Regions from separate parts of the Homo sapiens genome. Here region 2 is linked to region 1. The links are contacts of gene promoters, found by promoter capture Hi-C in human tissues and cell types (Jung and others, 2019). All regions are on one chromosome and are shown on one strand. The core of a region is centred on a gene start or on the middle of the fragment in contact, and the rest is flanking DNA. Distances in the headings are between cores, read along the strand shown. Region 1 holds the start of CCKAR (cholecystokinin A receptor). Region 2 overlaps SEPSECS-DT (SEPSECS divergent transcript).

Region 1 (5,662 bases), core at 870-3,369:
ATGGACCTCTCTGTGCCTCTGTTTCCTCCTTAGGGAGACAAGGAAGAATCATTGCATTTACTTCATAGAGTGGTTGGGAGATAAGGTAAGATCATGGAAGGCAAAGCACTTAGTACCACATGGGGTGCATAAAAGCGCTAAAAAAATTTAGCTCTTATGATTTTCATTATCATCATTTTTGTTTGGCATAGGCAAAGAGCTATATATCTCAGCCAATCAGGGTCAGCTTAGCGACCCCATAGCCCCCAGGAGCAAATTCAACTCCTCATCTAGGGGCAGAGACCTCTCTCTCTCTCTCTTTCTGCCAGAGATGGCCCCAGCTTTGGGGAGAACAGGCTGGGAAGTGAATCCTGAGAAGAGAATCTGAAACTGCGATAGAACTGGTTTTCAAATAGCCCCTGTTCCCTAAGAAAACAAAAGAAACAACTGCAAAGAACCCTCCTCCATCATCCTCACCCTCCCTAGAAGCCAGGACTCAAGTTGTGTATAGATCAGGACACAGTCAACAGCTTCCAGAAAGGGATAGAGCAGCTTAAAGTCACTTCTGACTTCAAACAGAAGCAAGCAAGTCCCTCTTCCCTTCAAATAGAAGCAAGCAAAATCAACTGCCCCTGTGTTTTCCTATCAATTTATTTCACTCTTAGAAACTGACCTCCAACATGGATGATGGGGACCGACTTGTGGGGAACGTATAAGGATGACTGTCAAGCCAGCACCAATGTCCGTGCACACAGCCATGCACAGCCTGATGTTCTGTGATTCAGCCCTCAGCAGGGCTCCTTTGCTGTGATTGTCAGAGGTTTGGGAAGGTCTGGGGCTGAGTGGGGTCTGGGGCAAGCTCCAGAAAGAGTCACCAGCAGCAACTTACCCATGAAGTAGGTGGTGGTCTTGCAAACGGCGCTCCCGAAGATGAAATCCTTGAGCAGATTGGGGATGAGGTTGAACGGCATGCAGAAGAGACAGAGCATGAGGTCGCTGACAGCCAGGGAGAGGAGGAAGATGTTGGTGACCGTCCGCATCCGCTTGTTCCGAATCAGCACGGTGATGACCAGCGTGTTTCCCAGCACGCTGAGCAGGAATATCAAGGAGTACAAGAGAATCTGCACCGCTGGCTGCCACTCTGCAGAGAGAAACAGGAGCAAGACGGAGGGATGGAGGTGATGACAGCAGAATGCTAAAACCGAAGCCAAGGGTGAATTCCTGCCGATTTTCCCCCCACCGGGGTGTACATCACTGGACCCACGATTCCTGTCCTGGCAACATTTTGCGGAAACAAATTGAGGAAAGCAGAGACTGAATTATTTTCTTTTTAGAAGGTTGGTTTGTTAAAGGATCACTCAGGGAACCACTTTTTCTTAAGAACAAAGCTCCTCAAGTGAACAGTGATCACTTTCTTTCCTGGCTGCTAAGCATTATTTCACTTTAATCACTTCATGCTGGGTTTCCCCCCAAGAAAAGAAAACAGCTGCATGGTGACAACACCTTTTCTGCTGTGCTTGTAAGTTCAGGCTTTGACACTTGTAGTCCCTCTTGCTTCACTCAGCTTTTCCTCCCCTGCTTTTGTTCCCCCAAGTCCTATTCATGAATGCCCAACTCCCCCATGGGGGACAATAAGAATATTTGACTCTATTCTGCTTTTTAATCTCTTCTCCAAACTTCTGAACATATGACTTTATCTAGCCTTGTCTCACAATGACTTGGTTATATATATTTTTTATCAGCCTTGCCTTTGCTGATTTCTCCCACAACTCAATAGTTTCCTGAATTAAAATAACAGCTTCCGACACTTACCTTTGGAAGGACGGGGCTGATCCAAGCAGAAAAGCGTCTCATTTTCGAGCCCGAGTTCACAGGGAGGAGTGATGTTGCTTCCATTCACAAGAAGGCTGTCAACCACATCCATCCTTGCCTGCTGCTTTCCACCAAGTGCTGGAGAGCTGGTGAATTGCTCACTCCCGGCTCATTCCTCTAATGACCGAAGCGTCTCGCAGATGCAACCTGCCGTGGAGGAGCAGGGAGGGAGTGATTTCCAGGTGTGGGCTTTTTCAGCCATTCCTAAAGGCGACTTGAGTTCACCTCACTCACTCCAGCATTTGTACTCCTGTTGTGGAAAAGGCAGTGAGCACAAGCCAAGCCCGCTCCACCTTCACCCCGCCCCACCTCCCCCGGCCCTTTCCTGGGCCAGTCTTAGGGCCCTGAGTACAGACAGCCTGGCTACCCGTTAACCATTCTCAGCGTGTGGCTGCTTTTTACACACATGTGTACATATGCACGGACACACACACACACACAGAGGCTTCCCCAGTACTCCTCTATATAGGAACCCGTCACCATCCCAGACATATGCAGAAGAAAGCCCAAACCGGCTGTGTGAGACAGGAACAATTAACACGGTAACAGATCCGATAATGCAGACCATCAGGCCTAAAGAACACGGAGGGACTGTGTTCTACCTCCTTATAGAAAAGCAATTAGTGCCTTTTTAGCTTTGGAACCATGCCCGGTGGTGTGTGTGTGGACAGAACTGCTGGCTGGTTGTTAAGTTGCTACTAAACACAGTGTTGTTTCTCGTGGTCTCTGCCCTTGTTAACTAGGATTGAGGCACTTTTGAACATAGGTACCTGGGTCCTTATTACAAAAGACGTTAGTGAGATTTCCTCTTCATTCATGAAGCCTTGCATTCAGCACATCTTCATTGAGAGTCAATCATTTGCCAGGCACTTTTCTAGCATGTCAGCAAATAATGAGCAGAATTATTTCAGGTAGTAAGTACTACAAAGGGAGTAAAGCAGGGAGATGTGATGTATACAAACAGATTAGGGGCTGATTTTTTGGGGGGCGGGGACAGGGTCTTGCTCTGTTCCCCAGGCTGCAGTGGAGTGGCGCGATCATGGCTCACTGCAGCCTTGCTCCCTGGCTCAAGCAATCCTCCTACCTTAGCCTCCTGAGTAGCTGGGACTACAGGCACACACCACTAAGCCCAGCTGATTTTTTTAGTTTTAGAAGAGAGGAGGTCTCGCTATGTTGCCCAGGCTGGTCTCAAGCTCCTGAGCTCAAGCAATCCTCCTGCCTTGGCCTCCCAGTGTTGGCATTACAGGCGTGAGCCACTGCACCTGGCCTGGGGCTGCTGATTTAGAAGGGGTAGTCAGGAGAGGTCTCTTAAGGAGGGGACTGTGATCTGAGACTGAACCACAAGAAGGACAAAGTCTTGTGAAGATCCCAAGACAGCTTCTCCCAGGCAAAAGGAGGAGCACTTTTAGCAGAGGTAACAGCAAGTGCAAAGGCCCTGAGGTGGGAATGAGTGTGGCCCCATTGAGGTACAAATAGATAGAAGTAGGAGTGAGTGAGAGGCAAACAGCAGGACGTGAGATCAGAGAGGGGGGCCATCTCAGGGTCCTGGGTGTTCCATGAAGCTCTGTGGTGCTGGAAAGCCCTTCAACCTCCATTGCACAGATTATGTCCTCAGTTCAGACCCTTTGGAAAGCAGACGACAATGGCTGTGAAACCTGCGTTTCTGACGCCCTGCTTGGCTGTGCTGAGACTTGGTCCATTTGCTAGATACCCGTGGGGCTCCTTGTGTACTGACAATGCTTCCACTGGCAGAGCTGCATGCTACATCTTGCTGAGTCTCTGCCAGACACAGAGGAACTAACGCATTTTTACTGTCAGTGTGGGGCTGGAAAGACAGTGGTGCCTCTTTTCTTTGAAACCATGAAGACCACATGGTTTGGGGCATTTAGTCACAGAAACAAGAAGGGGAAGGGACACTGGAGAAGCTGTGGATGTTATTGGGAGGACAGGCTTTGGCATCAGACAGACTTGGGATCAAATCCTGGCTTCACTGGTTACCTGCTAGGAAATACTGGGCAAATTAGTTTCCTTCCTTCCTTCCTTCCTTCCTTCCTTCCTTCCTTCCTTCCTTCCTTCCTTCCTTCCTTTCCTTTCCTTTCTTCCCTCCCTTCCTCCTTTCTTTCTCTCTCTCTTTCTTTCCTTTCTTCCCTCCCTCCCTCCTTTCTTTTTCTCTTTCTTTCTTTCTCTCTTTCTTTCTTTCTTTCTTTCCCTTCCTTCCTTCCTTCCTTTCCTTTCTTCCCTCCCTTCCTCCTTTCTTTCTCTCTCTCTTTCTTTCCTTTCTTCCCTCCCTCCCTCCTTTCTTTTTCTTTCTTTCTCTCTTTCTTTCTTTCTTTTCCTTCCTTCCTTCCTTCCTTCCTTCCTTCCTTCCTTCCTTCCTTCCTTCCTTTCCTTTCTTCCCTCCCTTCCTCCTTTCTTTCTCTCTCTCTTTCTTTCCTTTCTTCCCTCCCTCCCTCCTTTCTTTTTCTCTTTCTTTCTTTCTCTCTTTCTTTCTTTCTTTCTTTTCCTTCCTTCCTTCCTTTCCTTTCTTCCCTCCCTTCCTCCTTTCTTTCTCTCTCTCTTTCTTTCCTTTCTTCCCTCCATCCCTCCTTTCTTTTTCTCTTTCTTTCTTTCTTTCTCTCTTTCTTTCTTTCTTTCTTTTCCTTCCTTCCTTCCATCCATCCTTCCTTCCTTCCTTCCTTCTTTCTTCTTTCTTTCTTTTTTTTTTTTTTTCTGAGACGAAGTCTTGCTCTGTTGCCCAGGCTGGAGTGCAGTGGCATGAGCTAGGGTCACTGCAAACTCCACCTCCCAATCGCAAGCAATTGTCGTGCCTCAGCCTCCCAAGTAGCTGGAATTACAGGTATGCACCACCAGAACCAGCTAATTTTTGCATTTTTAGTAGAGACGGGTTTCACCAAATTGGCCCGGCTGGTCTCAAGTTGCTGACCTCAAGTTATCCAATCGCCTTGGCCTCCCAAAGGGCTGGGATTACAGGTGTGAGCCACTGCGCCCAGCCTGAGCAAGTTTCTTAACCTAAGACTCATTTCCATCTGTCAAATGGGGATCAGAATGATTTAATAGATATTTGTTATGAAGATTGAACGATTGACTCAATAGAGTGTCTGACATACAAAAAATGTTCAATAAATCACAGGCAGCAGTATTCATAGCCTTCCTACGATAATGGCTATTTTCGTTTTACAAATGAGAAGGCTGGGACTCACAGTGGCCATATGCTTTGCTGGTGAGAACCAGTGGTGGATTTCCCCTCGAGGACCCTGCAGACCCCATCCTCACGCCACTTCCCATGGCATGGAGCTTTCCTTCCCTATTCTAGCATCATGTAGCCTGTTTGGAGCCAGGGCTCTCGTCTCTCTTCCTCCTTCCTGCTATGAGTCCTTTTGTCTGAATCTTCCCTGTCTACAGATGATGGACCCTGCTCACTGGGCGATGACCCAGAGCAGCTGTGTTCTGATGTGGGAAGGGATGAGCATCCAGGGTTTTGGCTGCTGCTTCAACTGCTCCAGCTGGGCAGACATCACCAGCCATTCAGGGTGCCTCCTGCTGAGGCTTGTCAGGCCCATCAGCACCTGCTTCAAAAGCTGGGGGGACAGTGGTTCTGTAAGTCCAAGAACCAGAAGAGCAGAGGGCTGGGCATTGACCTGCCCTGAACCAAAATGGAGTCCAATTTGGGACAAGTTTCTCCTTTCCCTTCCCTTCCCTTCCCTTTCCCTTTTTCCTATTCTGTTTCTTCCTCCTGCTCATTGGTTGGCAGGAAGTGAGAGTGGGAGATGTGGTGGATGCTAGTGATTTTGTCAACTCATGGTTGGGGGGA
Region 2 (5,662 bases), core at 1,558-4,057, 1.3 Mb before region 1:
TACTTAGATTCATTGGAACATGGTAGAAATTTCAGGACCAAAAGCAGCAAAGACCACTCAGTGCTAAGCAGAGTTCAAGCATTTGCCCCTACTGTTTGCAACCCTCTGCCTAAATGTAGGATACCAAATGTTGCTGAGCCTCAAGTTAGGGAAACTCTCTCAGTGATCTGGGAGTAGACAAGGGGCCTCTGGTATTCTGCAGGTCTGTTTCTGCAGGCCTGCGGAGATTGTCTTTCCAAGGTGGGAGCTGCCCTTACCTCTTTAATTTACTTTCCTCCAGGCTGAAATTGTGAACCTTGGCCACTCCCAATTAAAATTCTCTTCTCTCATTTGGGACACTGAAGGGCATCTTTCACCCCCAGCTGTCAAATAGAAACATAGAAAGCAACTCAACATAGCCTTCAACAACCAGGAACTGTAGAAAAAGAATTTGCAAACATTGCACATTCTCCTTTGTTGCTTCAAATATGTGGTATCTTCTAGGAACTGGGCCCAGAGGTGAGTGAATAAGAAAAGCAGATGTTTGTCCTAGTCTGTTCATTCCATCTCCAAACAAGATAAATATTACAGGGTAAAAGGATCATCAGCCCAGTAACACAAAATCCTCTTTTTTTTTTTTTTTTTTTGGAGACATAGTCTCACTCTGTTGCCCAGGCTGGAGTGCAGTAGCACGATCTTGGCTCACTGCAACCTCTGCCTCCCGGGTTCAAGTGATCCTCCTACCTCAGCCTCCTAAGTATCTGGGATTACAGGCACCAGTCACCATGCCCAGCTAATTTTTGTATTTTTAGTAGAGATGGGGTTTCACCATATTGGCCAGGCTGGTCTCGAACTCCTACCCTCAAGTGATCTGCCCATCTCAGCCTCCCGAAGTGCTGGGATTACAGGTGTGAGCCACTGCTCCTGGCCTTATCTTCTTCTTCTTCTTCTTCTTCTTTTTTTTTTTTTTTTGAGACAGGGTCTCACTCTGTAACCCAGGTTGGAGTGCAGTGAAGTGATCTCAGCTCCTTGCAACCTCCACTTTCCAGGCTCAAGAGATCGTCCCACTTCAGCTTCCCAAGTAGCTGGGACCACAGGTGTGTGCCATCACGCCCGGCTCATTTTTTGTATTTTCGGTAGACACTGGGTTTTGCCATGTTGCTCAGGCTGGTCTCAAACTTCTGAGCTCAGGAGATTCACCTGCCTTGGCCTCCCAAAGTGCTGGTATTTCAGGTGTGAGCCACTACACCCAGCTATCAACGAAATCCTTTTAAATAAGTGCTAGGTATTCCACTGCCTAATACAAACTGTGTCATAACTTATCTCTTATTGATAGATCTTTGAAGTTATTTCCAAATTTATTACACAATACGTCAATGAACATCTTATACATATATTTTGCATTCTTGTCTGAATATATTTTATTAGAGCTGTGTGCAGTGGTGCCTGCTTTTACTTCCAACTACTTGGGAGGATGAGGTAGGAGGATCACTTGAGCCCAGGAGTTTGAGAATAGCCTGGGAAAAAAAAAAGAAAATATATACTTCCTTAAAATATATTACCAGAGGTAGAATTTATGGGTCAAATAGGATTACATCCCAGAAATATTATACCAATTTATATCACTTCAGTTGTCTTGGGTCTATATCTAGGAGTGAAATTGATGGGTCATTTGGTAAACCTATATTTAACTTTCAGAGTAACTGCCACACAGTTTTCCAGAGAGTTTTTATAGTAACTGTTGAACAGTTTTTCAGAGCAGCTGCACCATTTTATATCCTCTCAACAGTGTATAAGGGTTCTGTTTTTTTTAATTATTCATTCATTTTTTTTAAATATAAAGATGGGAGTCTTACTATGTTGCCTGGGCTGGTCTCAAACTCCTGAGTTCAAGCAGTCCTCCTACCTCAGTCTCCCAAAGTGCAGGGATTATAGGTGTGAGCCATTGCACCAAGGGTTCTAATTTTTTCACATACTGATCAATACTTGTTATTATCTGGCTTTTTTTTTTTTTTTTTGAGACAGAGTCTTACTCTGTCACCCAGGCTGTAGTGCAGTGGCATGATCTCAGCTCACTGCAACCTCTGCCTCCTGGGTTCAAGCGATTCTCTTGACTCAGCCTCCCGAGTAGCTGGAATTACAGATGCCTGCCACCACACCTGGCTAATTTTTGTATTTTAGTAGAGATGGGGTTTCACCATGTTAGTCAGGCTGGTCTCAAACTCCTGACCTCAAATGATCTGCCTGCCTCAGCCTCCCAAAGTGCTGGGATTACAGGTATGAGCCACAGCGCCCGGCCTATCTGGCTGGCTTTTTTATTATAACTATACTAGTAAGTATGATGTGGTATCTCACTGTGATTTTGGTTTGCATTTCTCTAATGGCTACTGAGGTTGAGTATCTTCATGTGCTTATTGGCCATTTGTAAATCTTCCTTTAAGAAATTTCTAAGGCCAGGCACAGTGACTCACACCTGTAATCCCAGCAATTTGGGAGGCTGAGGTAGGTGAATTGCTTGAGGCCAGGAGTTGAAGACCAGCCTGGGCAATACAGTGGGACCCCATCACTACAAAAAATTGAAAAATTAGCCTGGTGTGGTGGCAATGCACCTGTAGTCTCAGCTACTCAAGGGAACTGAGATGGGAGTATCTCTTGATCCCAGATGGTTGAGGCTGCAGTGAGCTATGATTGTGCCACTGCACCCCAGCCTGGGTGACAGAGTGAGATACTGCCTTACAAAGAAAGACTAAGTCTAACTTCAAATGGGATGGGGAGGTACATTCTTCCCACAGCTGATTATATATAGGTAATTAAAAATCCAGTCTATCACATAAGTATTTTATATATATTAATTTGTTTAATCCTCTCAACAATTCCCTGTTGCTATCTTCATTTTACGGGTAAAAAAACAGAGACACAGAGAGGTTAAGCAATAGCTCAAAGTCACACAGCTCATAAGGGCAGAGCTGAAATGCCTGATTTTAAGACCAGGAGCTCTAGCTCTATTGTCCATGCTCTTTTAAGACAACTAAAGGGGACAAGGGAATTTGTGGTGGAAAACTAGGACTGGTATAACCAGGCCCCACTTTCCAAAGGCACAATCACCACCACTATGACTATATCACCCTCATTTTACCCCAATTAGGATCAAATCTCACCCACCCACTTACTGATATTTTAGAAGGGCAAAAGAAAGAGGTAAGGGAAAAATGAAGATGAAGGTGAATGAAATGAAATGAAAGTTACCAAAAGCCCAAAAGGATAAGTCATTTGCCACTTCTTACTTCAAAATTGTTAACAAGAGATAAAGCATAAGCACTGCCCAATTCGATGCCAACTAGAAACTGCTGCTCTACCTGTACTGGTGCCCTCTGGCTCAGAATCAGCCCTGTCCTTAGCCTTGCCCTCCAGAGTAGATACCTTTTTGTGGAACTATTGGAGAAAGAAGGTATTTTTTTTTCTGAGTTTGCCGAGAGGACAAACTACTGGCAGGTATTTTGTTACCTCTAGAGACTGGCTTGTCTGAGAATGAAGCCACTGTAGAGGAAAGCAGGCAAGACAGGAAACAGGCAAACCAATTCTTTGACACTTTTGAGCTCCTGGATCTAGCCACGTCTGAAGTCAAATATGACCTAGATTTTCAGTTGTGTGAGCTAACCAATTCCTTTTTTTTTTTTTTTTTTTTTTTTTTTTGAGATGGAGTCTTGCTCTGTCGCCCAGGCTGGAGTGCAGTGGTGCCATCTCGGCTCACTGCAAACTCCGCCTCCCAGGTTCAAGCAATTCTCTGCCTTAGCCTCTTGAGTAGCTGGGATTATAGGCACCTGCCATCACGCCCAGCTCATTTTTGTATTTTTAGTAGAGATGGGGTTTCACCATCTTGGCCAGGCTGGTCTTGAACTCCTGATCTCATGATCCACCCACCTCAGGCTCCCAAAGTGCAGGGATTACAGGCATGAGCCACCATGCCTGGCCATCAATTCCCTTTTTATGGATAAGAAGTTAAGCTGAATTTCTAATATTAAAATAAAAGAATCTTATATACCCACAAAGTCTTCCTGTCTTTTTTCTTTTATCTTTTTTTTTTTTTTTTTTTTTTTTTTACAGGGTATCACCCTGTCACCCAGGCTGAAGTGCAGTGGTACAATCATATCTTACTACGACTTCTAACTCCTGGGCTCAAGTGATCCTCCTGCCTTGGCCTCCCAAATCTTCCCGCTTTTAAAGTCAATTCCAAAGAAGCCATCATATACCCTACACAGGAAGAGGAAAAGGCTTGTATTTAAGAAATGAGAATTGGCCAGGTGTGGTGGCTCACACCTGTAACCCCTTTGGGAGGCTGAGGCAGGAGGATCTCTTGAGGCCAGGAGTTTGAGACTAGCATGAGCAACATAGCAAGACGCTGTCTCTACAAAAAAGAAATAAAATAGTCAGGTAACATGACATAGGCCTGTAGTCCCAGCTACATAGGAGGCTGAAGCAGGAGGATCTCTTGAGCCTAAGAGGTCGAGGCTGAGTAAGCCACAATTGCACCACTGCACTCCAGCCTGGGTGACAAGAGACAGACTCTGTCTCAAAAAAAAAAAAAAAAAAAAAAAATGAGAATCAACTTAAGAAAAGCAAATGAAGCTCATGAGGGATGATACGACTTTCCTAGGCACCAGCTCTTGAAATTATCACCCCTTCCACCCATCCTCACAGCCTCCAGTTTTTAGAAAAGCATGAATAAGAGCAGAGGAGGAACTGGCCACCAGGATGCATGGAGAGACACCAGCATACTAAGTCTCTTAGGTCTCCACTAAAAAGATTTAGTGCTAGAAAGCTTCAGTGAAGTCTCCTATTCCTAAAATTCATTGCAGCCATAAAAGCACCGCCGTATTTTCATGAGCTATTAAAACAAACAGTTAAAAATAAAGTCCATTTGGTATCCAATATCCTTCACACGACTATATTTTTTCATGTATTTGTGAAGCAAAACAATTCATTTAACTGCAATACATCTCCTGTAACTGATTCAGATTTCCAGTCTATTTTGCATCCTGAAATAATAAACTGCAATTTCTCCAGCCATATAATTTATAAATTACATACACACATCACGACATTAAATACATTCTCTTAGTTTCTTCTCTTCAGTTTTCTCAACTGGTGTTTTATTTGGACAATTGATGAAATCACAAATGTTGAGCACCAGAGGAGTAAGAATAGTATAAAGGGAGGCTATTAGTATTTATTTGATACCTATCACATCACATGTTTTTTTTTTTTCACTTAATACTGATCCTGATCTTTAAAGCAATTGTTATTGTTCCCATTTTTCTGATGGAAAAGCCAGAAAGTGAGTAAGTTACTTACCCAAGTTTAAACAGCTATAAAATAGCTATGGCAGATACTGTTGGTTGCTTGTCTATAACCATTTTTCTTCTTCTTCTTTGCTGGCTGAACATGCTTCTCATTAAAGAAGTTGAAAATGCTGGAAACTCAAAAAGAAGGAAAATGCTGGAAACTTTTTTAAATTTTTGAAACAGGGTCTTGCTTTGTTGCCCCAGGCTGGAGTGCGGTGGCACTATCTCGGCTCACTACAACCTTGACCTCCTAGGCTCAAGCAATCCTCCTCCCTCAGCCTCCCAAAGTGCTGCTATCACAGGCATGAGCCACCACACCCAGTCATTGGAAACTCTTCATC

What was found. The method cuts DNA at HindIII sites, captures the fragments that hold promoters and counts their contacts. A contact is called where the count stands out against the background at its distance.
Region 2: a contact is called between a fragment that was not itself captured here and the fragment with the promoter of CCKAR in region 1, in 1 of the 25 tissues and cell types used here (aorta).

The regions. Positions count from the first base shown.
Region 1 is chr4:26,488,365-26,494,026 of GRCh38, forward strand. It overlaps CCKAR (cholecystokinin A receptor), which reads right to left and starts at 2,120. Exons shown (of 5, transcript NM_000730.3): 1 at 1,792-2,120; 2 at 869-1,120. The coding sequence starts at 1,903. The HindIII fragment of the contact is 14,703 bases long and covers 1-5,662 here.
Region 2 is chr4:25,191,367-25,197,028 of GRCh38, forward strand. All of the region lies in intron 1 of SEPSECS-DT (SEPSECS divergent transcript), which reads left to right. It overlaps LOC105374535 (a long non-coding RNA gene), which reads right to left. Exons shown (of 4, transcript XR_925490.3): 2 at 5,332-5,449; 3 at 258-362. Among named protein-coding and RNA genes, the nearest start is that of SEPSECS-DT, 34 kb to the left of the region's middle. The HindIII fragment of the contact is 4,908 bases long and covers 354-5,261 here.